Regions from separate parts of the Homo sapiens genome. Here region 1 is linked to region 2. Evidence: promoter capture Hi-C in 16 types of primary human blood cells and fetal thymus (Javierre and others, 2016). All regions are on one chromosome and are shown on one strand. Each heading gives the region's core, a stretch centred on a gene start or on the middle of the fragment in contact. The rest is flanking DNA. Distances are from core to core; before and after follow the strand shown. Region 1 has its middle 640 kb from the start of LINC02476. Region 2 holds the start of KCND2 (potassium voltage-gated channel subfamily D member 2).

Region 1 (4,909 bases), core at 582-3,081, 1.0 Mb before region 2:
GTTTCTCAATTTAAAAATCTCTGGTGATTTTAAGATTTTTATCTTTTTCTTCATTTTCTGGATTTCTTTAGAAGTTTCTTTGTGTTGATTTTCAAACTTTTCTTGGATCTCATTGAGCTTTTTTGCAATCTATGCTTTGAATTCTTTTCTGTTATTTATGAGTTTCCATGTTGGTTAGGGACCATTGCTGGATAACTAATGCCCTTCTTTGATGACGTTGTTGCATTTGGATTTTACATGGTGCCAGTATTATTGCACTGGTTCCTTCCTAAATATGTAATTATTATCATACTGGTAGAATCTTTTTTTACTTTTCCCCCTGTACTAATATCTCTGTATATATTTTTTCCCTTTCCCTTTCCATCCCTCCCTATGGGGTGTGACTGTAGAGAATGCTGAGTAGAATATTTTGGCTTTGCTTCTGCAGCCCTGTGCACTTCCGTCAGTAGGTTTTATATTGGGCTGTGCAGTTTGACCCATCAGCCAGCAGATGGCGCATATAGGTAAGAGCCGGCTTTGTCGCTGTAGATGGGTATATACTTTATTCTTGTTTACTGTGAGTAACCCTCTTTTGCCTCAAGCAATGGGCTGTTTCGTGGAATGCACAGTGGTCTGAGTTCCCTTCTCATCCTTAGGAGGGCAAGGCCCACGATGAGGGCCTAGACCTGGCAGGTCTGCCTACAAGTCCCCCGATGGCAGGCAAAATCACCAACACCAAGGGAGAATCCAAAGTAGCCACTAAGCCCCCAGAGGATTGTCTAAGAGTAGAGCTGGGAAGCCTTCTCAGCCCCAGGGTCTCTGCATAGGAATGGGGCAGCCTAAACTACTAATCTTTGAGATTGTTTCGGGTGCCTGGAGATCTTCCTGAGCGTCAAATGTTAAGTGGCCCTCTGCACCAAGATCTTTGCACAGGAGAGGTAGGCCACTCAGGCTGCTGGTCCAAGTGAACTAGTGCTCCGAATTCTTGGAGATCTGCCTGGGCATGAAGCAGAGAAGGCCTTCCTGCACCAAGATCTCTGCACGTGAAGGGTGGGTTAGCTCATCTTGCTGAACCAGGTGAACGTGTGTTCTGAATATCTGAAAACCTTCCTGGGTGTGGAGTGTAGAGAACTTCTCTGCACCAGGATCTCTGTACAGGAGAAATGTGGTGACTCAGGTTGCTGAACCAGGCAAGTAGGTTCTCTGAATGCCTGGAGATCTGCCTAGGTGTGGAGTGGAGAGAGCCCCACTACACAACGATCTATGCCCAGGAAGGGTGGGGCATCTCAGGCTGCTGAGCCAGGCAAACATTTGCTCTGAATGCCTGGGTGTGGACGGGCGAGGTCCTGACTGTCCCACAGTCTGTTTCCACGAGAAGTAGGGCATCTCAGACTGCTGATCCAGGCAAGAAGTTACTCCAAGTGCCTGGATTTCTGCTTGCAGGTGGACTAGAGAGGGCCCTGCTGCATCATTGTCTCAGGAGAGCAGGCTGGGGTGCCCTGCAGTGGCACACACAGACTGGTTGCAGGTTGCCTACCTGACGCTGGCTACAAGTGTCATTGCCCAGGAGAAACTACCACTGTAGCAGCTCTCCTGCCTCAGGCCTGTGACAGGGGAGAGCACAATTTCAGCACTTACATTTCCCGATGCGCTTTCCACAGGTCTGGCTGTGTAAGTCCCTACCCTGCTCCAGATTAGCACTCCAATCTCTGGCCCAAGACTGAAATGACTGAGCAGCCATGCTGCCGAGTCACCAAGAGATGTGTAATTGTGTATGTGCCTGAATTAAAAATGGTGTACTGCTCTTGATCCTGCGTCTGAGAAAATGTCTGCAGCTCTTCCAGGTGCCTTTTCCTCACAGTGTCTCCAAGCCTCTCTGCAAGTTAGCTCCAGGGCTTGAAAGAAACAACATGCTCTCCCTTGGCCTGAGTTGCTTGGATCCCCACTGGAAAAGTGAGTCACAGCCGGAGGGTCTCTGCCTGTCTCCTGGGCTTTACTCACTCGGCCAGACACTTACGGAGGCTGTTTACCCATGTTCTTCTCCCCATGACCTGGGGTTTCCTTCAAAAATCTAGTGGATTCCCATTTTCCTTTTTGACTTAAAGCTCACAAAGTTTATCTTTATGGACTATCACGCTATTTCCAATTAGCTGAGACATGCTAAAAGCCTCAAATCTATCATCTTGAAGGAAAACTACAATTTTAATAGTACTATTTATTATGAAAGAAAGAGACAAAGAAAGGTAGCAGTACAGTGTAGTAAAATAAAAATAATCTTTGAAATTTCAGATGTGGATTTGAATGTGAAATTAGACGTTTCTGAACACATCAACTTGAGAGGTTGTTGTATATTTATTCCACTTGTTCTACTACAAATGGGGGTATATTATATTATTAAGAGTGCCATAACATAATAGCACAGCCTGGGTAGCTTAAACAACTGAAATTTATTTTCTCATAAATCTGGAGGCTAAAAATCCAAGATTAAGGTGTCAGCAGGTTTAGTTTTCTCTGAGGCCTCCCTCTTTGACTTTTATATTGCCAACCTTTCCTTTTTTCCCCATATGGTTTATTTGTCTCTGTTGTCTGTGTCCTAATACCCTCTGCATAAGAAAAGGACACAAGTCATATTGGATTAGGGCCCGTGCTAATGACCCCATTTTAACTTAGTTACCTCTTCAAAGACCCTATCTCCAAATACAGCCACATCATTATATATTGGGCATTAGGGCTTCAACATTTGAATTTGGGAAACAATGCAACCCATACCTGAGAAAATGACATTTATCTCATATGATTTTTGTGATGAACACAGAATAGTGTGTTTATTCATTCCTAGTGTTGGAACGTTGTGTTATTTATAGCTTTGGGGATATGATCTATAAAGCAGTTAACAATATTTTTCGTACATATTTGGGTGGATTTGTGTTTTCATTTGTCTTGGATAACTTCCAATAAGCAAAAATGCCAGGTAGCATATTAAATTCATATTTAAATTAAGATACTGCTAAAGTGTTTCCAAAGTGTCTGTACCAGTTTGTATTCCCATCAGCAGCATTTGGAAGTTTAATTTGGTCTACTTCTTTGCCAGTACTTGATACCATTTTTTTTTAATGCTAGCCATTGTAGTGAATATGTAGTGACATATAATTTTGATTTTTGAATTTGCAATTATATGATAACTAGTGATGTTGGCTTTTTTTCATGTGATTATTGGCCATTTGCATAGCTTCTTTGGAAAAATGGTCAAATCTTTTGGGTTTTTTGGTGTGTGTTAATTGGGTTGTTTGTCTTTTATTATTAAATAATATTAGTTCCTTAGATGTCTGTATACAAGTCAATTAAAAGATACATGTTTGTGAAAAAGTTTCTCCCACTCTGCAGCTGGTCAATTTGTTTGGTTTTTGTAAATATGCCTTTTGAAGGACGAAAGATTATAAACCTAAGGTCTATTTTACCTTTTTTTTCTCTCTATACATAGGATTTATGTTGCCTAGTTTTAAAGTAAAAATAACTTTGCTTCACCAAATATCACAAATATTTATTCCTATTTTCTCCTGGAATTTTGATAGTTTTAGTTTTTACATTTAGGTAAAAGAAACTTTGAGTTAGATTTTTGTATATGGTTTGAAGAGACTCATTGTTGATTATTTTCTATTCAGTTATTCCATACAATTTATAGAAAACCTCTTTTCTGATTGAATTACTTAGAAAGCTTTATACATTTTTCCATCTATTTCTCCTACGTATATTATAAACATCATAAGATAGTGTTACTTTTTTTTAACAGCATATGCTTATCAGGAACTAAGATATTATTAATAGAGAAGAAAGTCAAACATATTATTTTCCATTTACTCAGATATTTTTTATTGTAAAACTCTTCTTTCTTTTCTGAGGAGTGGTTTCCATTTCACACATTTTTTTCTTCTTTTCTTAGATGCCTTCCTGCATTGTTTCCTACAGTTCAGGTCTGATGAAAATTGATTCTCTTACTTTTATCTGAAAATATCTATAAGAAATCCTCTTTCTTGAATGATATTTTAGGTGAATATAGGATTCTTTAATTACAGATTTTTTTTTTAAAAAAAAAAGAAAGCTGGAGATGTTCCACTCTCTTCCCTTCTTCATGAATTTTGATGAAAAGTTAGCAATTAAGCAGATTGTTGTTCCTGTATATCTAACATGTCATTTTTCATTTGTCACTTTCAATATTTGTTCTTTATCTCTGGCATTCAGCAGTCTGAATATGATGTTCCTGAGCTTGCGCTTCCTTCTGTTTATTATGGTTGGTATTTGCTCAATATCTTGGATTTAGAAATTTCCATATCTTGCCAAATTTGGAAAACATGTAGAGAATAGTATCTTCACCTTGTTTTTGCTCCATTTTTTAAAACTGTTTTCTTTGTGATACCCTAATTATGCAATGTCCAAGGACCATTTGCTATAATCTAACAGGTCTTTATTTTTTATATTTTTCCTGTTTGCTATTTACTTGGATCCTTAATATTAATCTATCTTCAATATACTTTCTCTTTATTCTGCCATTTTATTTGGCTATAAAATTTCATCTTTTTCCCCAGAAACTGCATTGCCCAGTTCTAGATTTTCCATTTTCATTGTTTCTAACTCTCAGCTCAAATCTATTTATCTGTTGAGATTTTTATTAATCATGCTTTATTTTCATGTATTACACATAGTTATAACAGATTCTTTTAAATCCTTGCAATTTAGTTGAAATATGTTGTTCATCACATGTTCTTGGCTGAGTTTGATGTTATCCTCTCTGGCCCTTTCCCTTCCAGGGTTCCTCCACTCTTTTCAGTGTTCATAGTATACAATCCTTTCTTTCCCCATGCAAGGATGATTATTTCCACAAGTGTCTCCAACACATTTTTGCATGCATCGTGAACTGCTAGCTACAGGCTAA
Region 2 (5,128 bases), core at 2,450-4,949:
TGCACATGGACCCCTTGAACCTAAAATAAAAGTTGGAAAGGAAAAAAACAAAAAGATTATAAGGGAGTTGAAAAATTCCTACTGCCTAGGGATGCGCAGCCATTGTAATGTCCTTGCCTAATGCGTTACTCAGGTGTCTGTGAGGATGCTGCTGTGCTGCCAGTCTTGCACAAGTACAGCACATACAATTATGTACAATATATAATACTTGATCATGATAATAAACGATGTTACTGGTTTATATATTTAGTATACTATACTTTTAATCATTATTTTTTAGTGTACTCCTTCTACTTATAAAAGAAAGCTAACTGTAAAACAGCCTGAAGCAGGCTCTTTCAAGAGGTATTCCAGAAGAAGGCATTGGTATGCCTTGGTATTCCATGCATGTTACTGTCCCTGAAGACAGAATGAAGAACGTTCAGTAGGAAAAGATGTGGATATGGAAAACAGTAATACTGATAATCCTGCCCCTGTGTAGGTCTGTGCCAGTGTAATTGTGTCCTAGCTTTTAACAAAACATTCAAAAAGTTTTTAAAAAGTGCAAAAATACCCAGCACTTTGGGAGGCCGAGGAGGGTGGATCACAAGGTCTAGATCAAGACCATCCTTGCTAGCACGATGAAACCCCGTCTCTACTAAAAATACAAAAAATTAGCCAGGCGTGGTGGCAGGTGCTTGTAGTCCCAGCTACTCGGGAGGCTGTGGCAGGAGAAGGGCGTGAAACCGGGAGGCAGAGCTTGCAGTGAGCTGAGATCGCACCACTGCAGTCCAGCCTGGGCGACACTCTGTCTCAAAACAAAACAAAACAAAAAAAGTACAAAAATAGAAGAAAACTTACAGAATAAGGATATAAAGAAAATATTTTTTTGTACAGCTGTATAATGTGTTGTGTTTCAAGCTAAGTGTTATTACAAAAGAGTCAAAAAGTTAAAAATTGAAGTTTTTAAAGTAAAAAAAGATAGTAAGCTAAGGTTAATTTATTATTGAAGGAAAAATAAGATTTTAAAAATAAATTTAGCATAGCCTAAATATACAGTGTTTATAAAGTCTACAGAAGTGTACAGTAATGTGCTATGCCTTCACATTCATTCACCACTTACTCACTGATCACCCAGAGAAACTTCCAGTTCTGTAAGCTCCATTCATAGGAAGTGCCAAATAAAGGTGTACCGTTCTTAAAAATATTTTATACTGTATTTTTACTGCAACTTTTCTGTGTATATATATGTTTAGAGGTTCAAATACTTGCCACTGTGTTACAAATTGCTTACAGTGTTCAGTACAGTAACATGATGGCAGGTTTGTAGTCTAGGAGCAATAGGCTGTACCATATAGCATAGGTGTGTAGTAGGCTATACCACCTAAGTTTGTGTAAGTACGCTCTATGATATTCAGACAGTGATGAAATCTCCTAAAGACACATTTCTCAGAATGTATCCCTGTCATTAAGCAATACATAACTATGGAAAGTATCTAAGGGAATTCCAAATACGGGCTGGATAAAATGAATTGCATTAGCATTATGCATTACAATAAAAAAGAACCAATATTGAGTACACTTCATGTGCTAAGTATTTCACTGGTGTTCAGAAGTATGATCCTGTTTCATCTTCACGACAGGCCTGAAAAGTTAAATTTCATTATCTATAATTTCTAATCATAGAAGTAATTTGCCAAATGAAACAAAGCCAGTAAGTAATTTCTTAAGCAAGATTTTGAATTTAGATGTGTTTAAGTTCTCAGCCCACATTCTTTCCACTATATCAAGAAGCTTGTTGAAGATGCAGGAGGGCAGATCCCAGTACCTTCTTAAAAACTGTACATATTATGTTCTTGCTTCTTTGGGGCTTTTGTGAGTTAAGCTCCTACTTTTACATTTGTAAGCATTCAGTTTCCCACACAGTTTTAAAGGCTCTATTTAGGTTCCTCGCCCCATCTTTACAGGAAAGCATGCCATTATTGGCATTGATTAAATATTCATGGCGCTCCACCCTCTGGATTCCATGCCCAGCACCTGTCATAGTGCCACCTTACTGTTTGGACTAACGAGGGGTTGGTTTTCTTATATTAATTGGTAGTAAGCCCCTCATTTCCATTTTCCAGGTAACATGCTTGTGTGTTTGTTTTCAGGTATGCAGGCTATATAGATTGGTTAACAAGCATCTTTCACTTAAACAAATAGATAAAGAGCAGGTGTCTTCAGTTCCTTGTCCTCAAACTTAAATGGTGCATTAGCTCTGACTTCATTACTACTGACACAGGATTCCTTAAATCTCTATTCTGTAAACAAATAAACAAACAAAAAATACCCTTTTATCTCTACAGAAAATCCTGTACATGATAAGGATATTTTAAATTCTCTGGTTATTTTCTATACTCATTTTTTAGTTTATATATTTTCTTTGACGTATCCCATTTCAAATTTTCAAGGTTGACACATCATGCCTGTAATCTCTAGGGCTTAAAAGTCAATTTCCGTAAAGTACAACACACAGTCCACTTATTTTACAAACCAAGGGCAGTCAAACCAAGCCATGAAAAGTAATTTTTAGGTAGAAATTAGGCTACTATTCTTCATCAATACAGATGAAGCCTCATTATTGCCAAAGATCTTAATTACTATGATGATGATGATTCAGTAATCTAGATTTAATTTTCAAAGGAATTTCAAAAGGAAACTCTCCACATCTCATCCCACAACTATCCAAATGCAGACTCAAGCCTAAGTAGTATATGTCACATAAACACAAAAAAGGTGGGTGGCAGCGAAGGGGTTTGGGGATGTTTATGTGATCTGACTCTCTGTTGGACCAGTTAATTTTGATCCTTCACCTTCCTAAAGCATCCAAACCTTAGGTGCAGATTTAACTTCTCGCCATCCACGCCATCTAGTGGCTTGTATGTGTTACGTTTGGTTTTAAGGATGATTCCTAATGACTCGGGGGCGGGGTACGCGAAAAACAAAAAGGTTGGTAGCGACAATTTTCCTGTGTCTCTCTACCTCAGTAACCCCTCATACGAACACCTTTAACTCTTTTAACTATTTTAAATATGCGCAGTGATGCGCAGAGAGGATGAAGGGGACGCAAACTTTCAGAGACGCACGCCCCTTGACGATGACATTTAGAAAAGGGCTCCACATCCCTGTTATTCGTAAAGGACGGGAAAAGGAGTTGTGTCAAGACCTCGATCGAGGAGAGTCTCTGATTTTTTGGCAAGTTGGACAGATGGCATATCAATCCCTGCAACGTTAACAATCTGGTTTTGAAAATAAATAAAAACAGAAAGAGGAAATGCACTTAAAAATTCCGCGTCGGAGCTTTGCGGGTCTTGCCTTCCAGTCGCCCCCAGAAGACAACCAATTCCTGCGCATTCCGCTCCGCTCACCCTCCTTCCCAGCTTCTCTCGCTCTCTTTCCCCCCATTTTCCCACGCTCGCCTTGAACCGGGACTCGAGAGGCAGAAGCAAGGCACGGGTCCCCTTTCTCCTCTCCTCCACCAAACCACCGCAGCCCAGCACGTGAAGCTTCCCTTTGTTCATCCGAGGCTCGCTTTTCTCCCCAGCAGATCCACCTGGATGCTCTCCCTCGGTGACATTTTGCGCCGGGGTTGGTGGGTGGCTGGGGTGGAGCGAGAGGAGCCCGAGGGGGCGGGGGCGGAGAAAGGTCAAGCCGAGGGAAAGGCAGGAGACGCCTTTCCTAACCTGCGTGGCGGGGCGTGCGCGCGGTTATTTATTTATTTTCTCCTTATTTATTGATCGCACTAGCAGAGCAGCGCGGGGAGCCCGGGGAGATGCAGGACCACCCACTGGCGGGGAAGCAGCTAGCAGCCCTCCCGCGCCCCCGCGCTGCCGAGCGCCTTCTGCCTCCGCGCTCGGACGAGAGCCCGTGCCGGCCCCGGCCCCGGCCCCACCGCGCCAACGCCGCCCGCCCGGCCGCCCCGCAGCCCCGCCGCCCCGCAGCCCCGCACCGCGCTGGCCAGGCTCCCGCGACAGTGGCCCCGCAGTAAGTTGGCAGGAGCGAGTCCCCTCCGTTCTCGCCTCCCCCGCACCTTTTGAACTTGTTGCTGCTGCTCTGCTCGCCTGCGCCTGGCTTTTGGAAGGTGAAAAGGAGGAGGGAGGCACGGAGGGATGGGGGAAGGGAAAGAAGAGCTCGCTTGAGCTTTATTTATGCTCTCTCGGCGCATCGGATTCGGCTGCTCGCGAGCTGCTTTCTCTCCTCTTCCCTTTCCGGGTGCACGGCGAGGAGAAAGTCTCTATGCAACTAAGCCCCGGCGCGCACTTGGCCAGGTATGTACCGCGGGAGCGGCGCGTTCTGCGCGGAAGCAGATGCTGCTGCCGCCACGGCGGCGGCGGCTGCCAGCTCCTGAGCTCTGTAACTGTCACACTGCACCTGAGCTGAACTTGAAAAGAGAGTGAAGGGGCGATTGGGCGAACGCTTTTGGCAGACACAGAGGGTGTTTGTAGACGTGGGGGAGGAGAATCTCTATTAACGCCCCCCACCGTAACCACTGCACATCACCTCCATCTCTGCAAATACAGCCCGAGGAGTAGAGGCAGCAGCAGCTGGACCCCCAAAGAGAGACGTGGGGCAGCGGCTGTGACCGCATCTCCTGAGCTACAACAACAGGTCGCCTTTTTGAGACTCCTTTGGCGGGAAGGGCTACTTGGAAAGGAAGGTTTGAAAGAGTGAGAAGGGTAGGTGTAAGGGTTCCCTAATTCGTCGAAAGAATTCTATTGGGTGACTCTCGTTCGTCTTCTCTATCCTACACTCCACATACTGACCCTATATTATCCAGACTGTGCCGGGGAGAAATCAAAAACACCTGTTTGAAGAAACGGCTGCACCTGTGTGCTTATTTGTGCCAGAGGGTGGCCTAGCCCACCTGCAGGAAGAGATTTGGCTGGGTTCTGTTGAGGGTGATTGTTAGGACGTTGTATTTTGTTGCCATTATTCCAAATACCTGTCTTGGAGGGAAAGTTGCCCTTCTGAGAACTGTGACTTTACCAGGAGCCCTATCTTGGAATAAGAGTTACACCTCTGGACCACGTTTCTCACTAGTACTTTGCTTGACTGGAGGAAGTGGGTGACTTTTGGCTGCTTCGGTGACCCATTGTAGACGCCTCGT

The links. Contacts are between HindIII fragments. The CHiCAGO score rates a contact against its expected background, and 5 or more counts as called.
Region 1: a contact is called between a fragment that was not itself captured here and the fragment with the promoter of KCND2 in region 2, in 3 of 17 cell types (endothelial precursors, megakaryocytes and M2 macrophages). The highest score is 15.4, in endothelial precursors.

The regions. Positions count from the first base shown.
Region 1 is chr7:119,269,654-119,274,562 of GRCh38, forward strand. No RefSeq gene overlaps it. Among named protein-coding and RNA genes, the nearest start is that of LINC02476, 640 kb to the right of the region's middle. The HindIII fragment of the contact is 3,722 bases long and covers 1-3,692 here.
Region 2 is chr7:120,269,476-120,274,603 of GRCh38, forward strand. It overlaps KCND2 (potassium voltage-gated channel subfamily D member 2), which reads left to right and starts at 3,700. Exons shown (of 6, transcript NM_012281.3): 1 at 3,700-5,128. RefSeq lists silencers at 2,787-2,886, 3,806-3,955 and an enhancer at 4,396-4,465. The HindIII fragment of the contact is 3,977 bases long and covers 3,526-5,128 here.